3 separate regions of the Homo sapiens genome follow, and all the other regions are linked to region 2. The links are contacts of gene promoters, found by promoter capture Hi-C in blood cells and fetal thymus (Javierre and others, 2016). All regions are on one chromosome and are shown on one strand. Each heading gives the region's core, a stretch centred on a gene start or on the middle of the fragment in contact. The rest is flanking DNA. Distances are from core to core; before and after follow the strand shown.

The links. The method cuts DNA at HindIII sites, captures the fragments that hold promoters and counts their contacts. A CHiCAGO score of 5 or more calls a contact.
Region 1: the fragment with the promoter of IGFBP6 here is called in contact with a fragment that was not itself captured in region 2 in 2 of 17 cell types (total B cells and naive B cells); the score reaches 6.1 in total B cells.
Region 3: a contact is called between the fragment with the promoter of SLC61A1 here and a fragment that was not itself captured in region 2, in 1 of 17 cell types (erythroblasts). The highest score is 5.2, in erythroblasts.

Annotation. Positions count from the first base shown.
Region 1 is chr12:53,096,232-53,099,394 of GRCh38, reverse strand. IGFBP6 (insulin like growth factor binding protein 6) reads right to left here and starts at 1,728. Exons shown (of 4, transcript NM_002178.3): 1 at 1,344-1,728. The coding sequence starts at 1,677. RefSeq lists silencers at 1,211-1,330, 1,341-1,420. The HindIII fragment of the contact is 8,294 bases long and covers 1-3,163 here.
Region 2 is chr12:53,514,571-53,517,616 of GRCh38, reverse strand. It overlaps ATF7-NPFF (ATF7-NPFF readthrough), which reads left to right. Exons shown (of 15, transcript NR_159377.1): 12 at 263-602. ATF7 (activating transcription factor 7) reads left to right here. Exons shown (of 12, transcript NM_006856.3): 12 at 263-3,046. The coding sequence ends at 480. ATF7-AS1 (ATF7 antisense RNA 1) reads right to left here. Exons shown (of 3, transcript NR_046221.1): 3 at 9-2,108. Among named protein-coding and RNA genes, the nearest start is that of ATF7-AS1, 2.1 kb to the right of the region's middle. RefSeq lists an enhancer at 29-528 and a silencer at 1,495-1,736. The HindIII fragment of the contact is 300 bases long and covers 1,113-1,412 here.
Region 3 is chr12:53,250,826-53,253,631 of GRCh38, reverse strand. It overlaps SLC61A1 (solute carrier family 61 member 1), which reads right to left and starts at 1,537. Exons shown (of 2, transcript NM_032889.5): 1 at 1,364-1,537; 2 at 1-814. The coding sequence starts at 796. RefSeq lists silencers at 1,215-1,264, 1,275-1,554 and enhancers at 1,020-1,691, 1,825-1,874. The HindIII fragment of the contact is 5,764 bases long and covers 1-2,806 here.

The DNA of each region.
Region 1 (3,163 bases), core at 479-2,978, 420 kb after region 2:
TGGATTCAACCCTTAACCAAGATAGGCTGAGGGCAGATTAAGAAGGTGCAAGGAATGAGGGGCTTCCAACCTGCAGGTTGCTCCTGGCTCTGGAGAAAGTTTCCGGAGGGTCCGGGGAGAGCTCAGGACTGGGAAGGGGTGAGGAAATAAGTCAGGGACAGGAAAAGGCAGAAAGGGGAGCATGTACTGACTGCTTGGAATTTGCCTAACATCTAATCAGATATCAGAACCCCTGAAGGGATCCTCTTCCTCTGTGCCTAAAGACAAGCTCCCAGCTAACTACCACTCACAACCCAGGAGACATTTCCCCTGCAATCCTGAGTCTGATCCTTCTTCCTCAGGATGCCCACCCCTCCCCAGACCTTCTCCTTCATTCCCTACATTTAGCACCCAACCATTTAGTTCCAAACTGCCTCCTCTCATCCACCCAGACCACCTTTTAGGAGGACGCCCAGAAGCCTGCACTCGGGCATTTGGAACTGAAAGAAACTCCAAGTGAATTCTCCATCCCCTCCCGTGGAAGGAACCCAGAGCCTCTGGGATGCGCAGTTTGCATTTCCTGCCCTCCCCATCTCCCCGCTGCCCCCCATGTTTTCACGGCTGATTCACTTCTGTCCCACCCACCCAGTGACTCAGCTTCTGCTCTCCTCCCTGGAGCAGGGTGGGGTAGGATGGGTGAACGATTCTGAGCAGGTTTAAATCATAACCCTGATTTGGCAGATTCCCTCTTTCCCCTACTCTTTCTCCCCTCTCCCCTAACCTACGCCCTAGCCTGCCCTCAGTCCCTACTCAAGTCTAATACAACCCTGGATTTGGGGCCTCTTCGGTTCTAGACGCCTCCTGTTTAGGTGCTTCGAACACCGGTATTAGGAGGAAAGGAGTCATTTCTCAGTGTGTGCAGAATTTCAGAGTCTGGGGTTCCCCTCCCCTTTTCTCCAAGTGGAAGCTGAGAACAACATTTGGGTCCTTTCCCCAGCTTGGCCGTCTAGGGTTGTAGGAGCTGGGCCTGCTGGAGCCCATGGGATGGCCCTAAAACCCTCCCATTTCTCCCCCTGCCTCCCCCAAGTTCCCACCTGCACGCACACTCCATCAAGGGAAAATAAATGGAGCAAAAAAGAAGGCCGAGAGCGCAGACACCTTCTGCTGTATCACCAGGTCCCCTGGCTGCACCTCAGCTTCCTGCACTTGCCCCTTCTCCCCCACACAAATGTGCCCCCCAAAGTCGGAAGCGTCAAGGGCCAGGGCGGAAAGGCTTGCCGGGCCACCCACTCCCGTCTCCCCAGGACCCTGCCTGGAGGACGCGGGTCTCACGTGGGCGGGGCAGGGGCGGGGCGCGGACTCACCAGCAGGCGCGCGGGCCGGAAGGCAGCGGCCTCGGCCGAGCAGCAGCGCCCGCAAAGGCGCCTCGTCGTCCTTGGGCGGATGGCACTGCAGTCCTGGGGCGCAGTTAGGGGTGTAGACCCCGCACTCCTGCCCCTCCCTCCTGAGACAGCCCTCAGCTTCCGCGCAGCCCTCGGCTGGCGACCCCCCATCCTCCTCCTCCACGCAGCCCCCTGGACAACCCGCCTGCACCCCTTGCCCGCAGCCTGGGCACCGCGCCAAGGCGCCTCCTGGGCTGGCAGCGAGCAGCAGAGCTAGCAGCAGCAGCAGCGGTGGCAGCAGCCTGTGGGGGGTCATGGTCAGGGTTTGTGCCCCGTCCTCTCCTTCCAGAGCAGTCGCAGCGCAGCTGCTGCCCGCCGCCGCCCCTCTGTCTTAAGTAGCCGCCGGCCAGGGGCCGGGCCCTTTAAGAGCCAGGTGAAGGGGGGTGGGGGAGAGGGCAGGGGCATTCCCTAAACTGGGTGGGACTGGAGAGGGCCCCCCCAACCTGGGTCCTCCCCACTCTTCTTTCCCTCTCCCTTTCCAGTTTCTGTTTACTTCCCAAATTGCTCTGATTTTTCTTGCTTTGTTCCCGGGAATCTCGGCCCGGAATTTGGGAGCTGTACAGCTGGCTGGAGGGACTGGAGGGTGGGGAGGAGCGGAAGAAGGGGAGGACGGGAGTGCAATCCACTTAGTGTGTATGTGTAGGACGACGAGGGGCATGCAGGGACCCGGTGGGGAGTGAGAAGACGGGGGCTGAAAGGGAACTGAGAAGAGATGGTGTGTGTGGATCACAAGAGGAGTGGGCAAATGTGGAGGGACAGAGAAAAGATGGAGAGGGTGGATAACGGGGTCTTGGGAAATTCTACTGCTGATGGGAGAAGTAGAACAGGGCAGAGGAGAGGAAGGGCAAAATTGGGAAAGGAGTAAGAGAAAGCACCCTTGAGGTAAGACTATGGAGAAAAGGGGCCCGAGGGGAACCAGACTGGGGTAAGCCAATGGGGGAAGGGCCGGGAGGCAGGGAGGGATACAACTTGAATGAACCGTAGGAGACCCTAGCATTGTGGTGGGCGCATGCGGAGTCTGGAAGGATTGGAGAGGGCTGTGTGCAGGGTGAGAACTGGCTGGGAGGCAGGGAAAGGGGGAAATTGGCAGGTTGAAACTAGAGAGGGAGAGAATTAAAGGAACTCGTATTCGGGATGCTCTTGGGGACAGTGGCCAGAGAGCAGACCCCACCCCCCTCCCCATCCCCGTCCTTCAGGTAAGCTCGCTCCTCCATTCCTCTCCTCTCCCAGAATCCGTTTCCTTCCCTCCCAGTCATCCATGGGGTTTTCTAGATTCATCAGACTGTCTTGTGCCCAGGGGACTTTGGGGAGGGACTACTCAGCATCTTTGCCTACCTACTTGTCCGCCTTCGCTCCAAGGGTCGGGTTCCACCGCTCCCCACCCGCCTTCCCCAGGCAGTGTCCCGCCCATCCCAGGCACTCCTAGCCAGGCCTCACAAGAGAGAGGAAGAGGGATTGTTTCCTTCGGCAACCCACACCCACCCAACTCTGGGTTATGCAACAGGGACCATCTCATTCTTTCCTAAAACAAGGGCTCTGGGCAGTGACTAAGTTTAAATGCTGGGCCCCAAGCAACAATGTCAGCAAGGCCTTCTTGAACTTTTAGGTAAATAGAAATAATACGAACCTCATTGTCAGCACAGCCCGCTTCGCCATGCAACCCTGGGACCCTAGGACATGTGTTTGGAGAATGGTGTTTTCCTGTTTCCCTGAGATACTGATGCAGACTGGAGAGGCAGGGA
Region 2 (3,046 bases), core at 13-2,512:
CAGTGTAATTAACATGTTGGAGATTCATTTTATTGGAATAGATAGGTTAATTTTGGCCTAGTTCTTCCCTTCTTACAACTTCCCATTTCCTAGCCCATTTATGACTTAGAAGCCAGGATTCTGGGAAGTTTTCCCCAAAAAAAAGATGGGTTTCATTTCCCTTTTGGGCTCCTTTAGAATTATGGCAAAAGGTAGTCCTGCCTCTTTCCCCATTCTGTTTTCTAACCAATTGCTCTCTGCTCTTTGCCCTCCTTCCTGGCAGAAAGCCCCAAGGAAAGCTCAGAGCCAACGGGTTCTCCAGCCCCTGTGATTCAGCACAGCTCAGCAACAGCCCCTAGCAATGGCCTCAGTGTTCGCTCTGCAGCTGAAGCTGTGGCCACCTCGGTCCTCACTCAGATGGCCAGCCAAAGGACAGAACTGAGCATGCCGATACAATCGCATGTAATCATGACCCCACAGTCCCAGTCTGCGGGCAGATGATGCCTCCTCTGGTGGAGAGGTCCTCAGCCAGAGCTCGCCCGCCCAAGAGCCAAGAGAGATGTCATCTTATCCCCTCCCATCTGCCTTGGACATGGCAATATGGGTGGGGGGAATTGTGTGTTGTGAGTAATGGACAGATATGGGGCTTTTTAGCCATGTGGTCATGTACGTTTGACACCTGTGCTGGGGGCCTCCCAGCCCCGGAGCCTCATAGATCATCCCCCAGGGTGGGGTTTCTGATGCATCCACAGCCAAAGGCCTTTCCAGATGGTCCGAACAATCACCCCTGCCCCATGCACGTGTATCTGTCTCTTTTAACACTAACCCTTGGCACTTCTAGGTTTGGGGTTTCTCAGTTCCCTCTCTTCCCACTAAGCCGTGGCTGTTACCTTTTTGTTCCTTACCAGCATGCCACTTCCTGCCAGATAGAGGGAGGCTAGATTTGATGACATATTACCCGCTGACCCAGCCCCAGCCACCCCATGGACTCAGGACTCAGGTCTCCCATAGCTGCTTATTTACCCGTTTCCTTTTTCCTCTTCCTTAATTCTAGTTAAAACATTCACTTACGGAGAATGTAAGGTTACCTTTGATGTATGAAGTAGCAGTATTTTCCAGTTTTTCCATAAGCTTTATTCCTTCTCTCTACCTGCCACCAAAAAGAAAGAAACCCTCAAGAGTTCTAATTCTTTTTCATCTATTTGCAGAGCTATTTGGGTACCTCATTTTGTCCCTTGACTTTAGTGTAGTGGTGGGGTCTTTCCCACCACCCCACTAAGCCTTGGCAACCTCATTTTGTGGCCTTATTATTAAAGATTGCTTGGTAGTGAAAAGGGAAGGGCCCAGAATCTGACTGGCTGATTCTGTCTCCTCCCCTCCCTCCTTCTTTAGTTTAACCATCAGGGCAGACAGGAACAAAGTATTTCAAAGCTTGTTCCATCAAGTTAGGGATTAATCGATTCCTTTATGTTTTATAAGAGTTTACCGGCCAAAGCATATTGTCATCTTTGGTCATTTTTCTGCTCCTGCTTCTCTCTCTTCATTCCCCTATCAACATTACCGCCCCTGTCTCTCTTCTGTAACTACTTCAGACTCAGCCCTCCTGGAGGCTGTCATGTAGGGGACTCTCGAGTTCCTTTGTTCTACCCCATCTCTCCCCCTCACACATCTGTCTGCTTTTCTGAGCTAGAGTCTTCTGTTCACAAGTGCCCATCACCGTCTGGACTATCTTCTTTCTCTTTCACCAGGTTCCTAGCTTAGCCACTAGGTCTTCCAGGTCCTCCAGAGTTTCTTCAACCCATTTCTTCTCTCTTCTCTTTACATGCAGTGCTCCAGGATCTTGAAGCGTCATAGCCAAGATGCTGAGTGGGTTTACTTGAGTATAAGATTGAAAGGAGGGAGGAAGAGGAGAGGGAAAGTGCAGAACTGGTCCCAGCAAAGGACCCCAGGTTCTGGCCTGGGAAATTGGTGACTATTGCTCTCAACCATTCTTACTTTGAAGAGTTGGGTTGCAGAGGGAGCAATTCATCTCTCTTGTCCCTCTTCCACGTTAAGGCTTCTCATCTCCCCTTGGCTCTGAACTATGCAGTTTCTACCAGGACCATAGGAAGCAATTCAGAGCCAGAGGCCTGTGGATAGATAGGTCAGCTTTAATTGCCTTTCCGTATGAAACCCTTCCAGTTGTCCCAGAGCCACTTTCTGCCATCTGTGCAAGCCAAGAATGTCCTTCTCTCCATCTTTCCTACCTCCATCTTAAACATACATACAAAATAACTGCCAGCTTCCTTTCTTATTTTGTCTCCAAAATTGACTGTCACAGGGGAATGAGAAAATGTTCTAAGCTACAAGATTCCCGTTTCCTTAAAGTGATATCCTGTCCTAGTGAACCAGTCAGGTAACAGGTTCTGCTGCATTTGTTTTAAATTTCCCCTCCTGCTTTTCAGAGCTGGTGCTGAACAGGCCACACCCCTAAAGACAAAGGAGAGAAAACACGGTTTTCTCATCCTCTACCATCAGGTACCCAACAGGAATAGGCCCTGAAGTGATTCAGACTAGCAAATGTTATGGCAGATGGTCAGGACGCAGGTTACCACATCCAGGGACTTCACTTTTGCCTTTAAAAATTCACAGCCGTAACTTGTGCTCAGGACTTCCCCTTTAGCTGGCTGCTCCCTGGGATTTTCTCCTGCTTTAGAGTTTTGTTTCATTTTTTTATTGTCTTGATTTCCCAGTAGCAGCCTTGCCCTAAAGCTTGACTGAGTTTATGGCTCCTAAGGAGCTTTCCTAAGACTCTTGACTATTTTTCTTCCCCCTTCAGTCAAGTGTTTTTACAGTTAAGAATTAATTTGTAACTGCATACATGCCCTGCCAGTCTGTCCCTGTGTTGGGTGGCTAATTTATGTAGCGGGTCTTTTTTATTTCTTAGCCCCCATGACTAATTATCTAGTCCTAACTTCATTTTTATCAGTGGGAAGATGTGTACGGGACCTCAGTGAGGAGCACTGCCAGAACCACAGTAACAAAATGGCACTGAAATAAGGAAGCAGCAGGTCAGAACCCCCTAGAT
Region 3 (2,806 bases), core at 288-2,787, 260 kb after region 2:
AGATGAAGATGACACTCTCAAATAGAGCTTGTATGGTGCCCAACAGCAGCACGCGGCGGTCCGACAGGAGGCAGCGCAGGCCTCCAGCACAGGTCCTTGAGAAGGCACGCTGCCGGTCATAGTTCTCCCCCCAGTTTCGAAGGGCCAAGGCCCCTGCCAGAGCCAGGAGAGGGATGGCAGCCACAAAGGGCGCTACAGGCCCCAGCCCTATCCAGCTGGCTACAGCCTCAGCTGCCACACCTGCCACTACAGCCAGCACATGGTTCCAGAAGGCAGCTCGAGCAAAGGTAGCTGGGATCCACTCAGCAGGGAAGTCATGCCGTTCCACGTGCTCATGGATATACCAGGCCTCGAAGGCTGAGAAGAGCAGGGCTGTGGACAGCCCACCAAGTGCTCGCCCCACTAGCAGCACAAAGTAGTCTTGAGAGAGTTTGGTTAAGCAGCATAGTGAGTAAGTCAGGGAGAAGAGGACACAAGAATTCTTGCGACCCAGCCAATCCACAAGGGAGGAGGCCACTAGGCCAAAGAGGACTGTAGAGGCAAGGCCACAGACATAGAGGATGGCAATTTGACCTTCCAGGAAGTAGTAATGCTGGTAGAGTTTATAGAGGTAGGGGGCCTGAAGCCAATCAGCTGCCAGGGCCAGGAAGTAGACCTGATAGAAGTCCAGTTGAAACCGAAGGAAGGAGGGATTGCTGCAGGCCCTTCCAGGGGGTTTAGCCCGGCATCTTGACAGTTCCAGCCCCAGGCAGGAGGCCAGGAGGCCTACAAAAGCAAGGTAGGCAGTCACCAGCATGGTGGGCCCCCGGACGACCTGGGAAGAGAGGTGGGAGTCAGAGCCATATCCATCCTTCGGGCAGCACGGTCAAGGGGCTGTCTTAAGCAGATGGCAGCTCCACCCAACCCCGCTGCCAACTCCACTCCCCAAGATCTCAGACCGGAGGGACCAGTTGGGTGGGTGGGAGGAGTGGCCACGCCAAAGCTGTCTCCTAGGACACTGTGGGGCAGGGAGGGGTAAGAAGACAGGGGAGAGGACTGGGCACTCAACCCATCCTTGCCTGTGAAGAGGGAGTCCCTTTCAATAATCCCGCTCCCGCAAATTCTACTGCCCTTTCCCACAGCAGCTCCCGTACACTTCCTTCTATTACCTCCCGTCCTCGCTGCGGAGCCTCTTTTTGCCCTCAGTGTCTCATCCTCTGTCCCGGGCATCCCTCCCACCCGCGCAGGCCTCTCGAGTTGCTTCAGGGTCATGCGTGTGCATCTCAGAGGCCCACTCCTCCAGGTCACTGGCACCCCACTGCGCCCCCTAGCCCCTGCCCAGCCCTGCCACATCCACTTGCACCTCGCCCAGACTCCGCCTCACCTGCTGCCCCGGTCTGCGGGGACGCCCCGGACACGTCCGGCTCCAGGCCGCCAGGCCACCCTCCCCGCTGTGGCTCCGGCTCCGGCTCGGGTTCCAGCAGCGCTCCCGCCCCTCACAGCCTGCTTCCGGGAGCCGGGCAGGCCTCTGGCCGCCGCCATGATGGCTTCATCACGTGACGGGGGCGCGGCGCCAAAACCCCGCCCCGCCCCGCCCGCCCGCCCTCCTTCCCTTACCCGGGCGCGGAACTCCTGACGCCTGGGGTGGGTCGGGAAGGGGCGACCATAGGAGGCTGCGGTTGCTTCTCCTGGCCTGGCCTCGCTCGCTGCCATCCCGTGACACCTGCTCCTCTGGCTCTTGGATGCCTGAGGGGCCACCCTGAAATAAGTGCCAATTTTCTTTTCTTCCGTGCAGTGCTCGGGAAAGATGCCCGCAGTCCGGTAGAGCCAAGGGTTGGAGCTTCCTAAGGAACAGCACCGCTGCCCGAAGCCGAGAAGGTCTCCTTGGTTTGCCTCCTCTCCCACTGCAGTGACCTCCATGCAAGAGAAGCCAGTATGGTCCAGACACCTGAGGGAGGCGGTGTGGTGTAAAGAACTTGGAGTCGGGCTGCAGACAGACTAAGGCGCAGTCCTGCCCCTGTCACTTACCAGCTGTGTGGCCTTGGGCAAGCCGCATAACTTCCCAGTGTCCCAGTTTCTTTGAAGTCACAGGATAGCAATGCCCAAATAAAGAAGGCTAAAGTTCAGTGGCAGCATGGGGTTAAGAACTTCAGCCTTGGAGCTTAATTCCCTACCTTCTGCCACTTACAAGCTGTTTTACCTTGGAAAAACTATTTAACCTCTCTACAGCTTCCGTATCATCTCCTCAAGAGCCTCCAATGACTTCCCATCTCACTAAGGGTAAAAGCCGAAGTATTTATAATGGCCTACAAGACCCTCTGTCCTCTGACCCTCTGCCACTCCTCTGACTTCATCCCCTGCTCCTCTCCCTCCCATCTATGTTGGCTACCACCAGGGCTTTTGCACACTGTTCCCTGTACAGTTCTTCTCCAAGATATCCACGTGGTTCCCCCCCCCACCTCCTCCAGTTCTCTGTTCAAATGTCACCTGATCTTGGCTGGGCCTGGTGGCTCATTCCTGTAATCCCAGCAGTTTAGGAGGCTGAGGCAGGCCGATCAGTTGAGGTCAGGAGTTCAAGATCAGCCTGGCCAACATGGTGAAACCCCGTCGCTAGTAAAAAAATATAAAAATTAGCCAGGCATGGTGGTGGGCACCTGTAATCCCACCTACTCGGGAGGCTGAGGCAGGAGAATCGCTTGAACCAGGGAGGCAGAGGTTGCAGTGAGCCAAGATCACGCCACTGCACTCCAGTCTGGGTGACAGAGCGAGACTCTGTCTCACAAAAAAATAAAAAATAAAATAAAATTTTAAAAAATGTCACCTGATC